Linked DNA regions of Homo sapiens: region 1 is linked to region 2. The links are contacts of gene promoters, found by promoter capture Hi-C in human tissues and cell types (Jung and others, 2019). All regions are on one chromosome and are shown on one strand. Each heading gives the region's core, a stretch centred on a gene start or on the middle of the fragment in contact. The rest is flanking DNA. Distances are from core to core; before and after follow the strand shown.

What was found. Contacts are between HindIII fragments. The study calls those that stand out against the background at their distance.
Region 1: a fragment that was not itself captured here is called in contact with the fragment with the promoter of ZNF717 in region 2 in 1 of the 25 tissues and cell types used here (thymus).

What each region holds. Positions count from the first base shown.
Region 1 is chr3:76,055,499-76,059,201 of GRCh38, forward strand. It overlaps a transcript of ROBO2 not described here. Among named protein-coding and RNA genes, the nearest start is that of ZNF717, 270 kb to the left of the region's middle. The HindIII fragment of the contact is 5,119 bases long and covers 1-3,703 here.
Region 2 is chr3:75,784,024-75,788,094 of GRCh38, forward strand. ZNF717 (zinc finger protein 717) reads right to left here and starts at 1,526. Exons shown (of 5, transcript NM_001290208.3): 1 at 1,361-1,526. RefSeq lists an enhancer at 1,639-1,788. The HindIII fragment of the contact is 7,615 bases long and covers 1-3,184 here.

The DNA of each region.
Region 1 (3,703 bases), core at 990-3,489, 270 kb after region 2:
CCTCCCCCCTTTTGGAGTTTTCAGTGTCTATTATCTCCATCTTTATATCCATGTGCCCCCATTATTTAGCTCCTACTTGTGAGAATGTGAAATATTTGATTTCCTGCTTCTGGGTTTGTTCACTTAGGATTATAGCCTCCAGCTCCATCCACATTGCTGCAAAGGGCATGATTTTATTATTTTTGTGACTGTATGGTATTCCAAGGTGTATGTATACTTTTTTTTTATCTAATCAACTGTTGACCACCAGCTTTTATTTTATTTATTTATTTATTTTTTGAGACGGAGTCTCGCTCTGTCGGCAGGCTGGAGTGCAGTGGCGCGATCTCGGCTCACCGCAACCTCTGCCTCCTGGGTTCAAGCGATTCTCCTGCCTCAGCCTCCCAAGTAGCTGGGACTACAGGCATGCACCACCACACCTGGCTGGACCACCAGCTTTTAAGAACAAACTTGATTGACTAATTTTACTAGTTTTTGTGACTCACGACTCATTCAACACTTCTGGGATTAAAAATACATCCTCTGGTTTTGCATCCATGGATTCAACCAAGTGCTGATTGAAAATAGTTGAGAAAATGAAAAACAAAAAAAGATAAAAATAATACAAATGAAAAACAATACAGTATAACAACTACATAGCATTCACATTGTATTAAGTATTATAACAACTCTGTAGATAATTTAAAGTATACGGGAGGATGCGCATAGACTATATACACATATGACACCATTTTATGTAAAGGACTTGAGTATCTGCAGATTCTGAGGAGGGTCCTAGAACCAGTGCCCCACAGGTACCAAGGGATGACTGTATTCAGACTGAAACAAAATATTCTTAAACAGAAATCATTAGCCCATAGAATATAGTTCTAATACTAACCCTGCTTATAAAACCTTTAAATTGCGTGATATTTTCTTTAAAAAATGGTGCGTTTTTAAAAGGCATGATCATGATGGTTGTATTTAATTTTAACTACATGTTCTAAAAGGGTCTCCAAAATAAAATTGAAGAAAAAAAACCCATTCACTTTTAAAATACTGAAGTTTTGTTGCCTGTTTATAGAGGAGTTTACAAAAAAAGAAAAAGAAAAGAAAAAGGTTCTTACATGTATCACTACACTGAAGCAATTGCCTTCAGAATACTTAGCATACACTTAAATTTGAGTCTTGTAACATTCTGAGGAACATTTATGATGGGAGGGTTGCAGATGTTTATGGTAATTTAAGGAGGTACAAATCTTAAACATACATCAGTAGATTATGAATTCACAAGTGGTGATTGGTAGCACTTTATAATCTGCAAATTGGTTTGCTAAAGTCTACCCTATAATAGAGGAAAGTGTAATGTCAGATGTAGTAAATTGCAATTTTTGGACATATGTTAATAGTATGCAGTTTCAATCCCTCATTAAAACAAAACAAAACAGCTAAAAGTTATGGTCCTTTTAAAAAAATGATTATGTTGTGTATGCCTGTGTGTGTATTTAAACTATGTTATTTACCTGAATATTCTGTCTACTTAACTTTGGATTTCCTCAAATTTTCTAAAGACCAGTTAGAAACAAAATGAGATCTTAAAATATTTTATCATGAGGATGTGGATTCCCTTCCTGTGTGTGTAATATTTTAACTTACTGTTATCTCTCACCTTCTAAGACCTTTTATTTATACGTGCTTCAATCTGATACTAGGCGTATGCGGGCTTATTCAAATATGTGCCACCCACAGCCTGCAGTGCCTGGGACATTGCTGGAGTTCCTTAAAGTCATTTAGACTCTCCATCCTTGGGTTTATACAACACGTTTGTTCCTTCAGTAATTCAATAAGTATGATCCTCAGTACCTCAGGAGGAACAAAGCTTCTTATGCTTAGAGATGTTAACATTTAGAATCTTCGGAAGGTTAGAAATACTTTAAAGGAGACAAGCATTCTCCTTAAAATGCTAGAATATTTCTATATTTACTTTATAAACATGTTCATGGTTGATAAATAAGTCAGTTTTGGGTCACAAAAAGGGGTTGTGCTGCACACTTCTGCATTCGGAATTATCCCCAACATAGTAAGCTTCCAGGGTGACATGTAGATGGAACTTTTTTAGAAATATATCAGTTTCTTGGGAAAGTGTTGTGGAGTAGAACAGATTTATAGAGCTGGAACCGTATTATACAGAGCTGTAGATCACTGCCGCCGACCAACAAGACCAGATTTTTTTTTCCTTTTTGCAAATATTCACCAAATGTCCTTTGTCTTATCTTTCCTTGTTGAAGTAACAATTCAATTGGTTTTTTTTTGTCTGAAAAATCAGACCATTCCCTGTTCTAAATCATTTTTCTTGATTTTTGTTCCTAATCTCATACCATAAACAAATGTTTTTGTTTAGCTGTGTTTGTCAGGAATGACAGATTTAACAGCAAAGCATAAATGTAGATAGGTAGTTAAAAATACAGTACAATAAATCACTGCCTTTACCGTGTGTTTGTGAAGGGTTATGATTATAAATGGAACATGAGTGAGGTAGAAAAAGAAATCCAATAATGTTATTTTAGGAGGATAGTGTTATAAGGTTCAGAATTGTACTCATTATAAAGAGCTTTTTGTTTTTTTTTTCCTTTTCTTAAACTATACTTTCAGTTCTGGGACACATGTGCAGAATGTGCAGGTTTGTTACGTAGGTATACACATGCCATGATGGTTTGCTGCACCCATCATCCTGTCACCTACATTAGGTATTGCTCCTAATACTGTCCCTCCCATAACCCCCTACCCTCCAACAGGCCCCAGTGTGTGATGTTCCCCTCCCTGTGTCCATGTGTTCTCATTGTTCAACTCCCACTTAGGAGTGAGAACATGCGGTGTTTGGTTTTCTGTAAAGAACATTTTTAAAAGGAAAACAGATACTATAGTTATTACTACTGAATGTTTTTAAAAGTTCTAATAAGTTCATATTTTAAATGTAATATTGCCTTTTGCATGAAGCACCTAGTGTATAGTTATAAAACTCATTGCGACCTAATTGATGAAATAGGTAGAGTGACGATTTCCACTTGATGAACGTTGCACATGAACTATCACACGTCGAAACAGCAGAAACTTTTTTTTTTTTTTTTTTTTTTTTTGCTATTTGGTATGCAAGATTGTTTCCTTGCCTTTTTTTTTAATTATTATTATACTTAAAGTTCTAGGATACATGTGCACAACGTGCAGGTTTGTTACATATGTATACATGTGCCATGCTGGTGTGCTGCACCCATTAACTCGTTGTTTGGCATTAGGTATATCTCCTAATGCTATCCCTCCCCCCTCCCCCCACCCCACAACAGGCCCCAGTGTGTGATGTTCCCCTTCCTGTGTCCATGTGTTCTCATTGTTCAATTCCCACCTATGAGTGAGAACATGTGGTGTTTGGTTTTTTGTCTTTGCGATAGTTTGCTGAGAATGATGGTTTCCAGCTTCACCCATGTCCCTACAAAGGACATGAACTCATCATTTTTTATGGCTGCATAGTATTCCATGGTGTATATGTGCCACATTTTCTTAATCCAGTCTATCATTGTTGGACATTTGGGTTGGTTCCAAGTCTTTGCTATTGTGAATAGTGCCGCAATAAACATACGTGTGCATGTGTCTTTATGGCAGCATGATTTATAATCCTTTGGGTATATACCCAGTAATGGGATGGCTGGGTCAAATGGTATTTCTAGTT
Region 2 (4,071 bases), core at 276-2,775:
ATGCAAATATCCATTGGTTCTTGCCTTTTTGGACACAGTCATATTGTGAGGAGGTCTGGAGCTACCCTGGTGGAGACACAGGGCCTAGCCAAGAGTCACCACAAACCGCCAGATTGTGAAGGAAACTATCTTAAACCAACCAGGCTCAGTCAACCCACCATGTGACCAAGGCCTCTTTTGTGATCCAGGCAACATAAATATATCAACTACCCAGCTGAACCCACCACACCAAAATGCAGATCCACAGAACTTCAAACAAATAAAATGGTGGTTGTTTTTTATAAGCCAGTAAGGTTTAATTAGTTCCTTAAACAGCAAGTATTAACTGTTACACCTAAGTGAACAGAATTCAATATGTTTTTAACAAAATTACGTAGGGGGAGAAAGTCTTAAATTACAAATCAAATACAATCGATAGAACTTCACAATCTAATGCTAAAGCTAAATTTGGTGATGGACTAGGTTTAATATATCTCAAACGCTGGAAACAACGAGGAAAGGTTGAAGGAATGGGACTGTGTTTGGAGAGTATTTTAATCTTCTCAGGTATGACAGGTCACTCCTGTACCCCAGACCACACTTTCAGGCCCCTTCAAATAAGGAATATTTCCTAGGTCCTTGCCTGTTCTTCTCAGCCGAATTCACCTCAACCTTCTGAAAGTTCGTCCAAACCTACCACTGTCACCTAGTCTTTGCAAATCTTGTGCATTCTAGGGAGTAGAATTAATATTTCCCGAGCGAGGAAAACTGGGATCTTCACCTGTGACCTTTTATCCTCCTCTGAAGCACCAGTGGGAGGTTAGACCAGAGGGCTGTTCTTTCAAGTGCGCTTCTTATTCATAGGGAACCCTCCCTTTCAAACCTTATAACACACGGTTAAGACTGAAGTACCCTTAAGGCTGAAGACCATCATCCAGTACCCCATCTCCCTCGCGGCATCAGTGAGTTCTTCCCTGGAAACTAGGTCTCGTATAAACTTCTGTAAACGCAACCCAGGAGGACTAGGCAGGTCACACAGTGAAGGAGGGAACCAGAAACTTCACTTGCTAAAGAGACACCGGGAAACCCAACTAATACAAACGCCCAGTTTAAGACTCGAGGCGCACGCGTTTCGCACTACTCCTCTGGGAATGGGGAACGTCTCCCGAGAACTGTGTGTTCGCACTGGGACAGATGGGCAAACTGAGCGTCATGCGGGTTGGTAACCGGCTCCCTCAGCGGCAGGACAGGAGCGCGGCCTGCAGACTCCGGGCCCAGGGCCACCGGCCTCGCCTACCCGCTCCTGCGCCTCTAGAACCCGCTTCACTGCCGGGACCCCACGCCTGTCCTCCCAGCCCCCGCCAGGGTCCGCGGCCTGCACCTGCACTTCAGGCCCTGCCCGCCCGCGATGCGCCCACGCGTCTGCTCCCACAACTGGGGAACACTGGTCCGGCCCCCCGGGATCCCCCGGGCCCACGGGTTCCTCTTCGCCCTCGCACCGACCCGCAGGGACATAGAACCAAGCCCCAGGCTGGCCCAGCTACAAGACCGCCTCTGGGTGCCGCACTTCCGGAGGAAAATGGCGGAGTGGGCGGGGCGGCGCATGCGCAGAGAGAAAAGCTGGTTCCCAAGGTCCTTGATGGTAACATCATTGGAAGGTGACACTACATTTCCCATGAGGCTCTGCGGTCCCCGGTTAGGAACCCAAGCCGGACATTCTGTTTTGCCCAGCAGTGAGTCCAGTTACCCAGAGACCCGGACTTAATGGATCAGGACTGGTCCCTACCCAGGTGACACAGATGTGGCATTCTGGTTCTTTATTAAATCCTGGTTTCACAGCCTGGCACATTGTGAAAATAATGGAGAAATTTCAATAGAGGCCAATTGGTCTATGCTATTAATGAGTAACTTTTTTTTTTTTTTTTTTTTTGAGACGGAGTCTCACTCTGTCACCCAGGCTGGAGAGCAATGGTGCGATCTCGGCTCACTGCAACCTCCGCTTCCCGGGTTCAAGCGATTCTCCTGCCTCAGCCTCCTGAGTAGCTGGGATTACAGGTGCGCGCCACCACACTCACCTAATTTTTGTATTTTTAGTAGAGACGGGGTTTCACCATGTTGGTCAGGCTGGTCTCGAACTCTTGACCTCGTGATCCGCCCTCCTCGGCCTCCCAAAGTGCTGGGATTACAGGCGTGAGCCACTGCGCCCAGCCCTCAAGTCTATTTTTTATAAATGCATTCGAAAGCATGAAAAAAATCATGTCTCTATTTTACTTTAAAATTTTAAAAACACAACTAATGAATATGGTAATTCTCTTCCAATCCGTTATCTTTTCTCTCACTAAACTAATTTATAAGCCTTCAATTTACACAGTTACAAAAAATGCTCTAGTGCATATACTGGGATAAAATAACAGGGTCATAAGACAGGTGCACTCCATAATCTTTGTGACAACTTACACTTCCAGTGTCTGATAAATATTTGCCCATAAACTCCCACGTTTCATCCATCCACCAATCAATCAAATCTAGCTATCTTTATTTATTTATTGTGAGAAAGACCTGAACTTTGCCTTTCCTTCCCTGATTTCTGCCACAAACTAGGCAAGGATTTCTGCCTAGGGGTTTCTCAGAGCTCCGGCCACCACCGAGGTTCCTAACAGGGAAACGCAAGCTTGAATGCTCAGGGTTGATGTGGGAGTGCGTGTGAAACGGGGTTGGGGTGAAAGGGCAGTGAAGTTTGTAGGTGGGCAGATGAGGGTGTGAAGGGCTTTCAGGTAAGAGGCACGCAGGAGACTGGGAGAGGCAGCGAAAGCACCTCACGCCTCAGATCACCAGAAGACGCTTCCACCAGTGCCGTGACAGTTTGCCAATGCCACGGCAGCACGGGAAGTCCCCACCCCTTGCCATGGAAACAGCTGGAAGTTACTGCCCATTTCTAGCTATTTCTGAATAACCCGCCCCTTAATTAGCATGCCATTAAAAGTGAATTATAAAAATGACTGCAAGCCACCCCCAGGCTGCTACTCTGGGAGCACAACCCACGGAGGGCTCCCTGCCCTGCAGGAGTGGACGCAGGGCTGTAACACCGCCAGTGCCTCCGTAGAGCTGCTTTCTTCCACCACAGGCTTGCTTTTGGATTCCTTCCTGAGCGACGCCAAGAACCTGCCCTTCCTCAGTGTGACTCTTGCCTAAAACCTATCCCTGGTTTTCTCTTTTCCTAAGCATGCCCTGACTTGTTCTTTCATCTCCTCGGATCTTGCAATTGCTCCTCAGTGACTCTATTCTGCAGATCCAGAAAACTCAACCTTAATCTTCCCAGAGCCCTGTTGTCTCCAATATCGGAATCTCTAGCCTTGCTTTCTCAGACGCCTAGATTACAGGCCTCTCTCTTGAACACCTATTGGTATGGTATCTGGGGATCCTTTAAATACACGATGATTGGCAGGGGTTACATAGCGGAAATCAGTGCCTGACAATTTGCCTTCCAGGATATGGACTGTCATTCCCTCTCTTGGTGGGCCTCAGTCTCTTATCCATAAAAGTAGAGATTGTAATACTCATTTGAATTGCAGATACCTCAACCTGAACCCACCTAATATAACGTAAAAGCCAAGACTGCAACCCCTTTCCTCACCACGTGAAGGTGAAGTCCTCAGAGCCAAGGAGAGAAGGCTCAGGGATGATACCTGGGTGTCTCCGACGCTAACCATGTATTGCAGTTTTTAGTGTTCAAGTTTAAGCTTCCCCAGCTTTAATTCTATTGTAACAAGATTTATTTTTGTAATTCCATTTTTGGATTCTTGATTTCTTGGTAAAGAAATACAGTTATTTTTGTATATCAATCTTATATAGTGTTACATTCTTAAATTTGTTCATGAGTCCTAATACTTTTTAGTAAATTTCTTACGATTTTCTAAATGCAAGATCATGTCATCTGTACATAAAGATAACTGTACTTCTTCCTTTCCAATCTAGATGCCGTTTATTTATTTACGTTGCCAAGTTGTCCCAGCTACCACTGTTATCAAGTAAAAGGGTCTCACTGCCCAAAGCACTAGAAGCCGGTACCACGACACTGAGTTTTCGAGAAAA